Regions from separate parts of the Homo sapiens genome. Here all the other regions are linked to region 3. Evidence: promoter capture Hi-C in 16 types of primary human blood cells and fetal thymus (Javierre and others, 2016). All regions are on one chromosome and are shown on one strand. Each heading gives the region's core, a stretch centred on a gene start or on the middle of the fragment in contact. The rest is flanking DNA. Distances are from core to core; before and after follow the strand shown. Region 1 has its middle 30 kb from the start of CEP120. Region 2 overlaps CSNK1G3 (casein kinase 1 gamma 3). Region 3 holds the start of PHAX (phosphorylated adaptor for RNA export).

Region 1 (4,281 bases), core at 1,560-4,059, 3.1 Mb before region 3:
TTTAAAAGCTCATTATTTTGAGGGGCAGGCTTTGGCTTGACAACTAGAACAAATTCTGGCTCATGGCCAGCTTTGTTTCCTTTCATACAAACACTCAGTGATTAACTAGACTCACAGAACCTTAGTGTGGAACATGTAGTAGGAATCATTCAGTTCCACTGGTTTTCAACCTCTTATATGGTATAAATCCACCAAACTCCTGGGTCTCACCATAACAGAAAAAAACAGTAAACAACAACAAAATGCAAACACAAAATTTTATGAGTTTTGTGCTTCCTTTCATTATAATAATGTCTTAAAATTTGTTCAAAAAACTCAGGCCTGCCATCTATGCTACATATATATATTTGTGGTAAATTAGTAGTGGTTGAGATCCACTGCGAGTTTCAAGATTAGAAAACAGGCTTGATTAGCTGAGGTCGCACAGCTGTTTGGTGGCAGAGTCAGGATTAGGGCCCTACATCTCTTCATTCTCAAATATGTTTTTCAATATCTTGCCTCCTGGGGCACTGAACAGATGCTCAGTTGCCCCTGGAGTGATCTAAACCCTGCTTCTCTTTATGTCTGTATTCTGGGTGGGACTTTATTTGATAAACGAGTTAGCCACAGGCATAAATTAGGCAGTTTTCACTAATGTCCAGAGGTCACTAGGGTACCATTAGTAAAATAGGGTTTTATCTTAACTAAAAGGGCATCCTAGTAGCCTGAAAGAATTTATGAACCTCCAAACACATTAAACCAGAACTGAAGACATTTAGTATAGTCATTTAACAAATAATCCAACACTTCTATTCTCTCAAAAATTATTTAACAATCTACATTTTTCACTTGATGAAAATTTTATCACATTTTCTTCACATATGTACCTTGGTGACTATGAATCACTGATTGGTTGCATATTCACTCATCTGGGTCACATACTTTTATTGAGTGACGGAAGCTTGGGAATAAAGATGAATCCAATACTCCCTGAATTCAAGGCACTCAAAATTTAGGAAAGAATAAAAAATATATAAATGAAAAGTCATTCAACTTGAATAAGACTACAGAGCACAAATTGTAGTATAATATACTTACTTTCAAAAGATATTATAAAATCGCTGCTTTTGTGATTAATAAAGAATCCTATTATATTAAGATAATCATAACTACTAATGGAAAAGCCATAGCACACAAATATATAGTTTAAAGAATAATTACTTACTAATTTAAAATAATCTACATAGTTTTCTAAAAACTTACATGTATATCATCTTATTTAATCTTGGAAACAATTCTGGGAAGTAAGTAGGATATACAGTGCTATCATCATTTTATAAGTGAAACTCAGAAATTTGGCCCTTAATATACGGTAACCAACAAATACACTGCAAAGTTACCAGGATGTATGTCCCTCCCGATCTCTCCCCTTAGGTACCTGTGAGCTGGGCCCAAACTTAATACAGCGTTTAATCCCAGACAGTGTTTTGGGGCCCTGATCCTTTCCTCCTTTGCCTATCACAGGAAGCCAGAAAGAAATGTAAATTTACTCTTGATTCCAGGTTCCTTCAGCCTGGAGTAAAAACTTAAACAGAATACAACCCAGACGAAAAGGTTGAAGGAAAAGGTCTCAAACCCTGACAGGCTGAATTCTCAAAGACCATAACTAAAAAAAACAAATCAAAATGCTATGTTTAAAAAGCTTTTCTACCTCTCCTAACAGTCAAGCCAGACCCTTCTCCTATTAGATGCAAACACGATCTTTAATCTATAATGCATCTGCTTTCACAACATAGAATGATTAAAAGAGAGGAAGGCTCCCCTCCGTGCCCTATTCTACTTCCTCTCTATGCTTCTCTAAGTAGCTGATTACTATGAACCCTGCATGTTTCCGGCGATGTTTTTGGAGCTCTTTCCTTTGTTGTCATCTACTAGATTCAGAGCTTCTCATTAAGGAAATTAATGTAAGTATAGTAAAATATGTGGCCAAAAGAGTCAAAATTGAACTAGGTTTTGCTCATTCCATGTCCATTCCATATACCAAGCTTCCTCAACTACTCTTTTTGCATTTTTTACCTTCACTAATTTGACAGCTATTCATGAGTGTTTAGATACAGTTGTCAAATTAATAAATAATTCTAAAGTGCCATTTTTCCTGCAAATCCAATGATACTTAGACAACTTTTGGCTAGGCAATGCATAGGCGTGGTGGCTCTTGCCTATAATCCCAACACTTTGGTAGGCCAAGGCGGGCAGATCACTTGAGGTCAGGAGTTTGAAACCAGCCTGGCCAACATGGAGAAACCCCATCTCTACTAAAAACACACAAAAAATTAGCCAGGCGTGGTGGCAGGCTCCTTTATTACCAGCTACTTGGGAGGCTGAGGCAAGAGAATCGCTTGAACCCGGAAGGTAGAGGTTGCAGTAAGCCGAGATGGTACCACTGCACTCTAGCCTAGGCAACAGAGCGAGACTGCGTCTTGGGAAAAAAAAAAAAGAGAAAACTTTCAATGCTAATTAATTTATCATAATATAAACAGTTTCTAATGTTTACTTAGATTTATAAGGGTTGGACGATGTTCCTGAAAGAAAATAGAAAGTCACATAGGTAACCTGATTGATCTCAGACCAGTGTGTTTAATACTGCAAGGCAGTATAGTAAAGGGGTAAAGAGAGAAGTCTGGGGTCAGATTGTCTGGGTGGGTCTGATTTTGGGCTCTATATTTATTACTGTGTCACCTTAGGTAAGTCATTTAACTTTTCTGCGTCTCAGTTTTATCATCTAAAAAAAAACCCTTAAGATAATAATAGTATCCAACTTAGAAAGGCGATGATTTAGGACTTGTAAGATGCTCAGAAGAAATGTTGTCTGTGGTCATTATTGCACATAGGCTAATATTGAGGGGAGAACACTGGTTCATTCCCCTGCCTGTGATTTCAGGAATTCTGCCCCACTTAAAGTCTTACCAATATATGTCTGGATTCCCCATTTAAGGTTTTCATGGGCTTACAAAAACTCAGATCCTGCCTAAGCTACCTGAGGGTACGTTTTACCTCCCCTGCTGCTGGTCCTGTGACAAGGCTAATGTCTAGCCACACCAGGGTGCCTCCCCTAGATGCTCCCAACATTGGATTTCCAGGAGTCTTACTGTACCAAAGCCAAGGTCTTTTCCACCCAGAAGGGAAGGGAATACTTAGCCTCCTGCCTCTTGATGCCACATTCTACTCCCTTGAGTGCTTTAGGGAATTTGCTTCGATGCTTCATGCCTACTACGCCTTTCTCTTTAAACTTCACGCTTGGGGCCCTGGCTATGAAACAGGGATACCTGAGGCACAAAACCTCCCTACCTCTCCCGTTTTTCAAAGAGCAACTCTCTGGCAAATGGACTCATGAAAGTCCTGCTTAAAAGTTCCTCAGACATGTTTGAATGGGCTTAAATCTTACTTTAGGCTCAGTCCAGGACTCTGATTCCCCTTTCCTGGTTACATAAAGATGCTAATAAAATCCTGAAACCCCCTTTAAGCAATCAGCAAACAGAATCTCCTCTTAGTTTTCCCTTTTGGGCAACTGTATATGCCTGCACTGTATTCAGTAAACATATTTCCTAAACAAAGTAAAGCTTTCCATATGCTTTTGTGATTTTAACACATTACTGATTGAGCACAGTAAAAGCCTGAAATGCATGCAGTGCTAGTAAGATAGTCCCATGGGTATCTACTTCCTTAAACAACTTTCCCTCAAAAGTACTAAATGTCTCCATAATATCAACTATTGATAAAGTTCTCAATTCAGTGTTATGTCAGTTGAGGCAACCCACTGATTTATATTTCCTAGAAGGCTTTTTCTTTGAGAGTTAGAATGGTAGACAGAAAAGGAAATTAATCTACATGAAACTCTAAGGGAAAAATGTAGGTTTACAAGTAGTGAGGAATGGCGAACTATTTTTTTTTTTTCTGCAGGACATTTCTGATGAGTCATGTTTATATGCACAAGTATGTATACCCACTGTTACTACAGGCATAGTAGAGATACAGTTGGCTGCAGGCTGTACACAATAATCTGAAGCCTGGCTGTAAACCTTCTCTTCACATTAATCTGCCACACACTCTGATGATTAGGAATCCCTGATCCACTAATAATCTTTTCTACTATGAATATATAGCTGAACAATTTGTGATTACAGTTGCTAATATATCCTGAAGTACATCTAACCTCCAGTTGATGTCCCATCTGGTGGTGTTTCCAGTTTTGTGAGCTTTATCTCTGAATCAACTTTAATAGAAAATAGTAAGGTCCTGAAG
Region 2 (4,537 bases), core at 1,876-4,375, 3.0 Mb before region 3:
CACAGACTCTTAATACGTGTTGATTATTTTTTATGGTACATATATTCCTGAAGAGGAAAATTTTAATGGACTATGTACCTTTTTAATTGGTTTCAAGACCTATTTAAAATAATCTTTAATGATACCTATTTTAAAGAAAAATAATCACTTTCTGGTTTCCTTAGGTGCTCATAGCAAGAGTTCTTATAATGATTCTTGGCCTTGTGGAAAAACATTCGCTTTCAAACAGGCCTTTGTAGTTAAGTGCTTTAAAAAATGTGAACAGGCTTTAATAGGGGCCAGATTACTGTTGGGAGACTTTTTTCATGTAAAAGAACTGTTAAAGACCCTAGGGGGTGTTCTTTAGTTACTGTGTTTCAAAGAGAAAGCCTTCCTGTGATTTCTGTAACTTACTACATGGTAAAATTTATTTCCAGATATGTCAGTTGGTGAAAGAACACAAAAAAAGAAATTATGAGGGTAAAGAGCATTTCAGACTGAGTTTCAGTAATAGATTTGTTTTACTAGCTAATATTTATGGCTTGAATTTTGAAATGCTTTGTGGGTTATGAGACTAATACTGTTCTCTGATAGAACCATGTAGGCGAGATCACCTTATGACCGTGGCTTATTGGCACTATGTGACTAAAGCTTCCCCTTGGATAGAATTCAAAGAGGAAGTGCCTTTTATATTGAGTTCCTCTCCATAACAGAGCGTCTTACTGTAGGGCTCAGCATACTTTTACATGTATAGTATTTTAAGTTTTTTAAACTATATGCATATTATATATAGGTCTTGCATATACATTGATAAATGTATCCTTACATATTTCCTGTTTTTTAATGCTGTTGTAAAGGTATTGGTTTTAAAATTCAATTTTCACTTGTTCGTTGTGAGTATAGAAATCCAGTTTTTTTTTTTTTTTTTTGAGACTGAGTTTCGCTCTTGTTGCGCAGGCTGGAGTGCAATGGCGCGATCTTGGCTCACCACAACCTCCGCCTCCCAGATTCAAGCGATTCTCCTGCCTCAGCCTCCCGAGTAGCTGAGATTACAGGCATGTGCCACCATGCCCAGCTAATTTTTTTTGTATTTTTAGTAGAGACAGGGTTTCTGCATGTTGGTCAGGCTGCTCTCGAACTCCCAACCTCAGGTGATCAGCCCGCCTCAGCCTCCCAAAGTGCTGGGATTACAGGCGTGAGCCACCGCGCCCGGCCCAGAAATCCAGTTGATTTTTATTTTTATTTTGTAGAGACAGGGTCTTGCTCTGTCACCCAGGCTGGAATGCAGTGGTGCAACCATGGCTCCCTGCATTGTCATCCTCCTAGGCTCAAGGAATCCTCCCACCTCAGCCTCCCTAGTAACTGGGACTACAGGTGCATGCCAACACACCCAGCCACCAGCTAATTAAAAAAAATTTTTTTTTGTAAAGTTAGGGTTTCTCTATGTTGCCCAAGCTAGTCTTGAACTCCTGGTCTCAGGCTATCCACCTGGCTCGACCTCCCAAAAGTGCTGAGATTACAGGTGTGAGCCACCGAGCCTGGCCCCAGTTGATTTTTATGTATTAACCTTATATCTTGTAACCTTGCTAAAACTTACCTACTAGTTGTAATAGACCTTTTGTAGGTTATTTGGATTTTTCTACATATACAATCCTGTTGTCTGCAAAGAGCAATAGTTTTATTTCTTCATTTCCAATCTGAATATCTGTTAATTTTGTTTCTTTGCTTCTTTGTACTGGCAAGAACTTCCAGTACAATACTGAATAGAAAGGGTAAGAGTGGACATCTTTGTTCGTTCTTGATCTTAGGAGTGTCTTTTATCATTTAAGAATTATGTTAGTTGACATTTTTCGTAGTTGTTGTCAGGATGAAGTTGGCTTGTAATTCCTAGTTTGCTGAGATTTTTTTAAAAATCATTAATACGTGTTGGATTTTGTCAAGTACTTTTTCTGTATCTGAGATGACAATATGATTTATATTTTATTCTATTAATTTGGCGAATTACATTGATTGATTTTTAAAAGTTAAACCAAACCTACATTCCTAGAATGAACCTTACTTAGTCATGAGGTATTATCTTTTTAAGGATTTCATGTTTGTGTTTATGAGGAATATTTCTTATAGTTTCCTTTAATTGTAATGTCTTTATCTGTTGTTGGTAACAGGGTAATGCAGTGAGTTGGGAACTCTTCCAATCCTGGGTTTATGTAGAATTGGTATTATTCTTTAACTGTTTAATAGGATTCAGTAGCGATGCTATCTGGATTGTATTTTGGGAAGTTTTTAAATAATAAATTTAATTTCTTTAATTGATGCAGAGCTATTCACATTTTCTTCTTGAGGCAGTTTTAGTTATTAGTAGCTTTCAAGATATTTGTCCATTTCATGTAAGTTGTTTAATTTACATGTAAGTTGTTTCGTAGTATTCTTTTATCATTCTTTTAATATCTGTGGGATCTGTTCTGATGCCTCTTCTGTTTCTTCTGTTATTGGTAATTTGTGTTTCTTTCTTTTAGCCTGCTGAGAGGATTAATGATTTTATTGAACTTTCCAATCCAGCTTTTGTTTTCATTGGTTTTCATTACTGATTGTCCATTGGTCATTGATTTCCTCATTTGTCATTATTTTGTCCTTCTGTTTATTTTGGGTGGTATTGATATGAAGGCAGATACAGATAAGTTGGTCAGAATACAGAGTCTGAAATAGACTTATACATAGATGGCCGATTGATTTTTGAGAATGGTGCAAAAGCAACTCGAGGGGAAAGGATAGTTTTGCCAAGAAACTATATGAGAGTAGCTAGATATTAGTATTGAAAAAAATATATCTAAATCCTTACTCCACACCAAAAGCAAAAAAAAAAATTACTTCAAAATGAGTAATAGGTTTAAATGTAGGAACCATAACTATAAAATTTCTAGAAGAAAAAACAGGATAAAATCTTTGTGATCTTGTGGGTAGAGATTTCCTAGATTGGACATCAAAAAGTATAGAAAATAAGAGGAAAAAACCCCTGATAAATTGGACTTCATCAAAATGTAAAATTTCTTTTAAACATACTCTTAAGAAAACAAAAAAATAGCAAGCTGTTTTCTTGAAGGGAAAAGGTATTGGCAAAACATATCTGAAAATAACTTGTGTCCAGAATATACAAGGAACTATTACAACTTTTTAGTAAGACAATCCAATTTTTTAAACAGGCAAACACATGAAATAAAGTTCAGTGTTAGTCACCAGTGAAATACAAATTAAGTCAGTTAATCCATACTTTGAAGTTTGCTTTTCTGAAAGGATTTATTACTGCTTATACTTCATAGCCACTAGCATGGCTAAAATTTAAAAGACCATACAGAGGTTGGACAGGTGCAACTGAAACTCCCATACATTGCTGGTAGAAATGTGAAATGACATAACCCCTTTGGAAAATCATATAGAAGTTTTTTATAAAGTTAAACCTATACTTACAACATCATGTAGCAATCCCCCTTCTAGATATTAACCCAACATAAATGAAAATGTATGTCAACATAGACTAGTACAAGAAGAATGTTCATAACAGCTTTATTCACAATAGCCCCAAACTGGAACCTATTCAAATGTCTGTCAACAGATGAATAAACACATTGTAATATACTACTCAGCATTAAAAAGTAATGAGCTATGGTTGCACGTAACAACATGGATAAATCCTGAAAACATAGTAAGTGAAAGAATTTGGACACGAATCTATACTGTATGATTCCATTCATGTGCACCTGTCTAATCTGTAGTGATGAAGGCAGATAAGTGGTTGCCTGAGGCTGATGGTATTGTGGGGGTTGGGGGAGAGTAATAGGCAAGAGACATTTTGGAGCATTAGAAATGCCTCTTGATTGTGGTGGTAGTTATGCAGGTGTGTTTGTTGTTAAAACTTACCAAACTATACCCTCAGGACTACGAGAATCTAATGAAGTAAAATTTTCGTTATAAAAGTTATAACTAGTTTTTTTCATATTCTCATCCCCACTTTCATTAGTGGATGTAGATGGACTTTAAGGCCACTACTTATTTTGGAAAATTTGCTATTTTTAATAGCATATACTTACATTTTATAATAAAAAGTACAAGAAATAAAAAAACCTCTCCGTTATATCACATTTTTAGCATGCGAAATGGGAAGTTGAAATCTCTTCTCTAGTCTTCCAATCTTGTAGCCTTAATGACTGTCAATTTTGATGTATACTTCTGCAACTTGCAGTCTGGTGGAAGCATATATATTGATTAAATAAAAACACAAACATAGTATCTTTAAATCATAACAAGTGTTATTGAAAACAAGTGTATTAGTCTGTTTTCATGCTGCTGCTGCTGATAAAGTTATACCTGAGACTGGGCAATTTACAAAAGAAAGAGGTTTAATGGACTTACAGTTCCACATGGCTGGGGAGGCCTCACAGTCACGGCAGAAGGCAAGGAGGAGCAAGTCACATCTCATGTGGATGGTGGCAGGCAAAGAGAGCTTGTGCAGGGAAACTCCTTATAAAACCATCAGGTCTCATAAGACTTATTCACTATCAGG
Region 3 (4,578 bases), core at 297-2,796:
TCTCTTACTAGCTTTACAAAGGCGGTTGGCTTTTGGGGAAGGGTTATTATCATTTAAACTATAAACTAAATGTCTCCCAAAGTTACATTGACAGGCCCAAGCACAGGAATAATTAAGGGCAGCTTGAAGGCTAAAAGCAAGATAGGGGTTGGCTAGATCAGATCTCTCCCACTGCCATAATTTTCTCACTGTTATAATTTTCGCAAAGGCGGGTTCCAAGATAACCCTTAAAGAATGGGGTGGGTTGAGGGAAGGGCCTCTCAGGCCGAGTGAACAGCAAATGCAGAGGCCTGGCCTGAGGAACAACAGGTTCAGCGCGCCAGCGGTTAGGCAGGGGGACACACTAGGACCAGTGACCAGATGCCCAGTCCACATGACCTTGTTTGCCATGTGGCAAAGTAAAACAGAGGTTCCTCTTCAAAAACTTTCCTCCCCGTCTAATTAGGAATAAATAGTAACTTCTCTTAAAAGCAAAATTTATTCAAAGATCTGTGCTAACATTCTTAAATATCTGCTAGCCATAATAAAAAAAAATGTACTTTATGTTCTTAGCTCCCACAATTTAGCCTAAATATTTGCCCTGGCATGCTTTTACTAGTCCAAGCAAGCATTAGGTCATAGCCTGTTCCTCTTCCTTATTTAAAAGTGTTTTCATCTTTCTCAGCATTCCACAAGTTACTTCCTCCTTCCTTTGTTCTCCTCTACCTTTGCCTCTTTTAAAAAGTTCTAAGTTGCTAGCCAATCGGGACAAATACAAAATGTGAGGTCCGGTCCAGCCAATAAAAACCAGCCACAGCAGTAAGGTAAACACGTCAGGTTATAAATGACCCTGTCTCCTTTTGTTCAGTGTACTCTCCTGGCAAAACTGCTGGCGAGTGTACCCTTTCTGCAGAAAGTAAAAATGGCCTTATTCAGTAAGTTAAATTTATGTTGCTATTTCTTTACGACACCGGAAAACAAACATTTCAAACACCATGCTGAGAACTCAGTCCTTGTTTTGGGGAGGGATGCACTTGGAAGATTCGAGCTAAGGTACAATCCTCCCTAGGTATCCGCGGGTCATTGTTTTCAGGACCCCCACAGATACCAACATCCGCCATGCTCAAGCCCCTTACATTATGTGGGGGTGCACGGTGGGTCCTTCCCATCCGCAGGTTCGGCATCCGTGGATGGGGAGTGGATACAGAGGGCGGACTATACAGCTTGAAAGGCTTCCCTGGAAGCAATATGTAGAGTGGATTGTGGAGGAGCAAGAACAGAAGCGGGGAGGCTTGTCCAGAGCATACAGGGGAAGGATGTACGGCCAAGGGAGGAATCCCAGACGACCGCGATACGTGACATATTTATGTTTGCACGAAAATAAAGTTTGGAAGAAAAGTGTTGGGGGAACAAGGGATTCATTTTCCCGGGGTAGTTGGAATGCAATGGGACGCCTCAGGCCGCTGGGACAGGCTGGCCTCCGCGCGGGGGCGCCCGAGCAGCCGAGCCGCCGGGCCTTCCGGCTGCCCCGCCGGAAGTGCTCTCCTGACCCGCCGCTGTGCAGCGCAGCGCACCGCGGGAAGATGGCGTTGGAGGTCGGCGATATGGAAGATGGGCAGCTTTCCGACTCGGATTCCGACATGACGGTCGCACCCAGCGACAGGCCGCTGCAATTGCCAGTGAGTGTGAAAGGAGGGTGGGTGATCGTGGCTGGGCGCGCGGAGCCTGGGCCCCGGGGAGCGCGCAGGCAGCGGTGAGGGTGAGGGGTGGGAGCTAGGAGCCCGGGCCAGAGCGAGGAGCCCAGGCTGTCGGGTCAGTGGCCGCAGAAGGGGCGAGCAGACGTCCCCCAGGCGGGCTCACGGAGCCCGGGCTGCGGGGGCCGAGGGGCGAGGGGCGACGGCGGCAGCGGCAGCGGCTGGCCGTGCGAACCCCGAACTGGCTGCTCCCTGCGAGGCGGGGCGCGCGAGCCCTGGCGCCTCCTGGAGGCCGGCTTGCGGCGGCCTCTTAGACGTCTCACCTCCGCCTACCGCTCTTTCTTTTCTAAACTTGGGGCTTCCCCACTCCATCGCCGCTAGGTAACCATAAAGGGGCAGATTTTGCCAAATATGTAGCATCTAGGGACATCAGCCTGAAACAGCCTGTGATGCTCATTTTCTCCCTGAGCCGAAGGGAGACTGAGGCCCAGGAATGAAGTTTATCGCTCACTCAAAGATCTGGTTTTCCATGTTTCCACCGAACCTAGCTTTGTCATGCGGTACCATGGCACTAGGCTTTTGCATTAGCCTCTCTGATTTTGTTTGTTGTTTTGAGGTGGTCTCACGCTGTTGCCCAGGCTGGAGTGCAGTGGCGCGATCTCGGCTCACTGCAACCTCCGCCTCCCGGGTTCAAGCGATTCTCCTGCCTCAGCCTCCCGAGTAGCTGGGATTACATGCGCCCGCTGCCACGCCCGGTTAATTTTTGTATTTTTGGTAGACGCGGGGTTTCACCATGTTGCCCAGGCTGGTCTCGAACTCCTGACCTCAAGTGATCGGCCTGCCTCGGCCTCCAAAAGTGCTGAGATTACAGGTGTGAACCACGGCGCCCGGCCACATCCAGCTAATTTTGTATTTTTAGTTGAGACGAGATTTCTCCATGTTGGTCAGGCTGGTCTCGAACTCCCAACCTCAGGTGATCCGCCCGCCTCGGCCTCCCAAAGTGTTGGGATTACAGGCGTGAGCCACCTCGCCCGGCCTAATTTTTGTATTTTTAGTAGAGACGGGGGTTCTCCATGTTGGCCAGGCTGGTCTTGAACTTCCGACCTCAAGTGATCCACCCGCCTCGGCCTCCCAAAGTGCTGGGACTACAGGCGCGAGCCACCGCGCCCGGCCCAGCTTCCCTGCTTTCTAAACGGGAATTTGTCTTGACTGCCTTGGTAGGTAGCAACCTCTTTGAGAGGGCGTTGGTGCCAGGCTGCCTGTGTTCAGATCCTGGGGCCACCGATGTGTGACCTACAGCAGGTTTATTTAGCCTCACTGCTTTTTGTCTACCTCTGTGGAATTGGCATGATGTACCACTGATAGGGTTATTGCAAGGATTCTGTGGAGCATACAGTGTGCAGTAATGCCTGGTAAGTGTTATCTCTGATTATTATTTGAAGATAGGAAGATAGATAGTCCCAACTTCCATTTCTAGCGTAGTAGGAGTTTAACAAAGACAAATACTTGCTTTTGCATATAAATGTTTAGGAAATTAGTACCAAGATATTTTGTTTTTCAATCTCAGGTTGTTTTTACATAAATTGACCCATGACTTGGTAAATAAACTTAATGCCGTGGACTCTGGGGTTTTAAAAATATCTTGCCCAGGCTGGGCGCGGTGGCTCACGCCTGTAATCCCAGCACTTTGGGAGGCCGAGGCGGGTGGATCACGAGGTCAGGAGATCGAGACCATCCTGGCTAACGCGGTGAAACCCCCTCTCTACTAAAAATACAAAAAAATTAGCTGGGCGTGGTGGCGGGCGCCTGTAGTCCCAGCTACTCCGGAGGCTGAGGCAGGAGAATGGTGTGAACCCGGGAGGCGGAGCTTGCAGTGAGCCGAGATCGCGCCACTGCACTCCAGCCTGGGTGACAGAGCAAGACTCCCATCTCAAGAAAAAAAAAAAAAATACATGCCCAGCCTGGGCAACTTGGCAAGACCCCGTCTCTACCAAAAAATGCAAAAAAAAAAAAAAAATAGCTGGGTATGGTGAAGGTTGCCTGTAGTCCCAGTCCCTCAGGAGGCTGAGGTAGGAGGATCGCTTGAGCCTGAGAGGTGGTGAGCCATGATAGCTCCACTGCACTCCAGCCTCGGCCACAGAACAAAACTTTGTCTCAAAAAAAAAAAGTAACAATTATTATGTATGTCATTTTAAAACATTCTGACAGTAACTGAAAAGTTTGAAATCTTTTAAAGGTGACAAGAGCTTTGGTAATATAGTAGAAGGAGATCTTAGAACAAAGTGCTGCATTAGTTGTAAAGATAAGAATTTGTGGCTTTTAAATTGGCAAATTCCATGTGGAACTTAGAAAAGTAGGAACTTGATTGGTCTCAGATTTGTCTTTGAAGATCAGTTCCATTTTGGAATGGCAAAGTTGAATCTCTAAATTTTTAAAAATTAGGTAGGTGGAGTTTATGTGTTTTGTGAAATTGATTGTGTTTCTTTTCACTTGCAGAAAGTGCTAGGTGGCGACAGTGCTATGAGGGCCTTCCAGAACACGGCAACTGCATGTGCACCAGTATCACATTATCGAGCTGTTGAAAGTGTGGATTCAAGTGAAGAAAGTTTTTCTGATTCAGATGATGATAGCTGTCTTTGGAAACGCAAACGACAGAAATGTTTTAACCCTCCTCCCAAACCAGAGCCTTTTCAGTTTGGCCAGAGCAGTCAGAAACCACCTGTTGCTGGAGGAAAGAAGATTAACAACATATGGGGTGCTGTGCTGCAGGAACAGAATCAAGATGCAGTGGCCACTGAACTTGGTATCTTGGGAATGGAGGGCACTATTGACAGAAGCAGACAATCCGAGACCTACAATTATTTGCTTGCCAAGAAACTTAGGAAGGAATCTCAAGAGCATACAA

What was found. The method cuts DNA at HindIII sites, captures the fragments that hold promoters and counts their contacts. A CHiCAGO score of 5 or more calls a contact.
Region 1: a contact is called between a fragment that was not itself captured here and the fragment with the promoter of PHAX in region 3, in 1 of 17 cell types (monocytes). The highest score is 5.0, in monocytes.
Region 2: a fragment that was not itself captured here is called in contact with the fragment with the promoter of PHAX in region 3 in 1 of 17 cell types (M2 macrophages); the score reaches 5.4 in M2 macrophages.

The regions. Positions count from the first base shown.
Region 1 is chr5:123,450,773-123,455,053 of GRCh38, forward strand. No RefSeq gene overlaps it. Among named protein-coding and RNA genes, the nearest start is that of CEP120, 30 kb to the left of the region's middle. The HindIII fragment of the contact is 1,575 bases long and covers 2,023-3,597 here.
Region 2 is chr5:123,582,470-123,587,006 of GRCh38, forward strand. The region is part of intron 6 of CSNK1G3 (casein kinase 1 gamma 3); the gene reads left to right. Among named protein-coding and RNA genes, the nearest start is that of CSNK1G3, 73 kb to the left of the region's middle. The HindIII fragment of the contact is 4,995 bases long and covers 629-4,537 here.
Region 3 is chr5:126,599,401-126,603,978 of GRCh38, forward strand. PHAX (phosphorylated adaptor for RNA export) reads left to right here and starts at 1,547. Exons shown (of 5, transcript NM_032177.4): 1 at 1,547-1,658; 2 at 4,170-4,578. The coding sequence starts at 1,563. RefSeq lists enhancers at 629-1,478, 1,479-2,326, 2,327-3,175 and silencers at 1,385-1,594, 1,715-1,964. The HindIII fragment of the contact is 34,757 bases long and covers 1-4,578 here.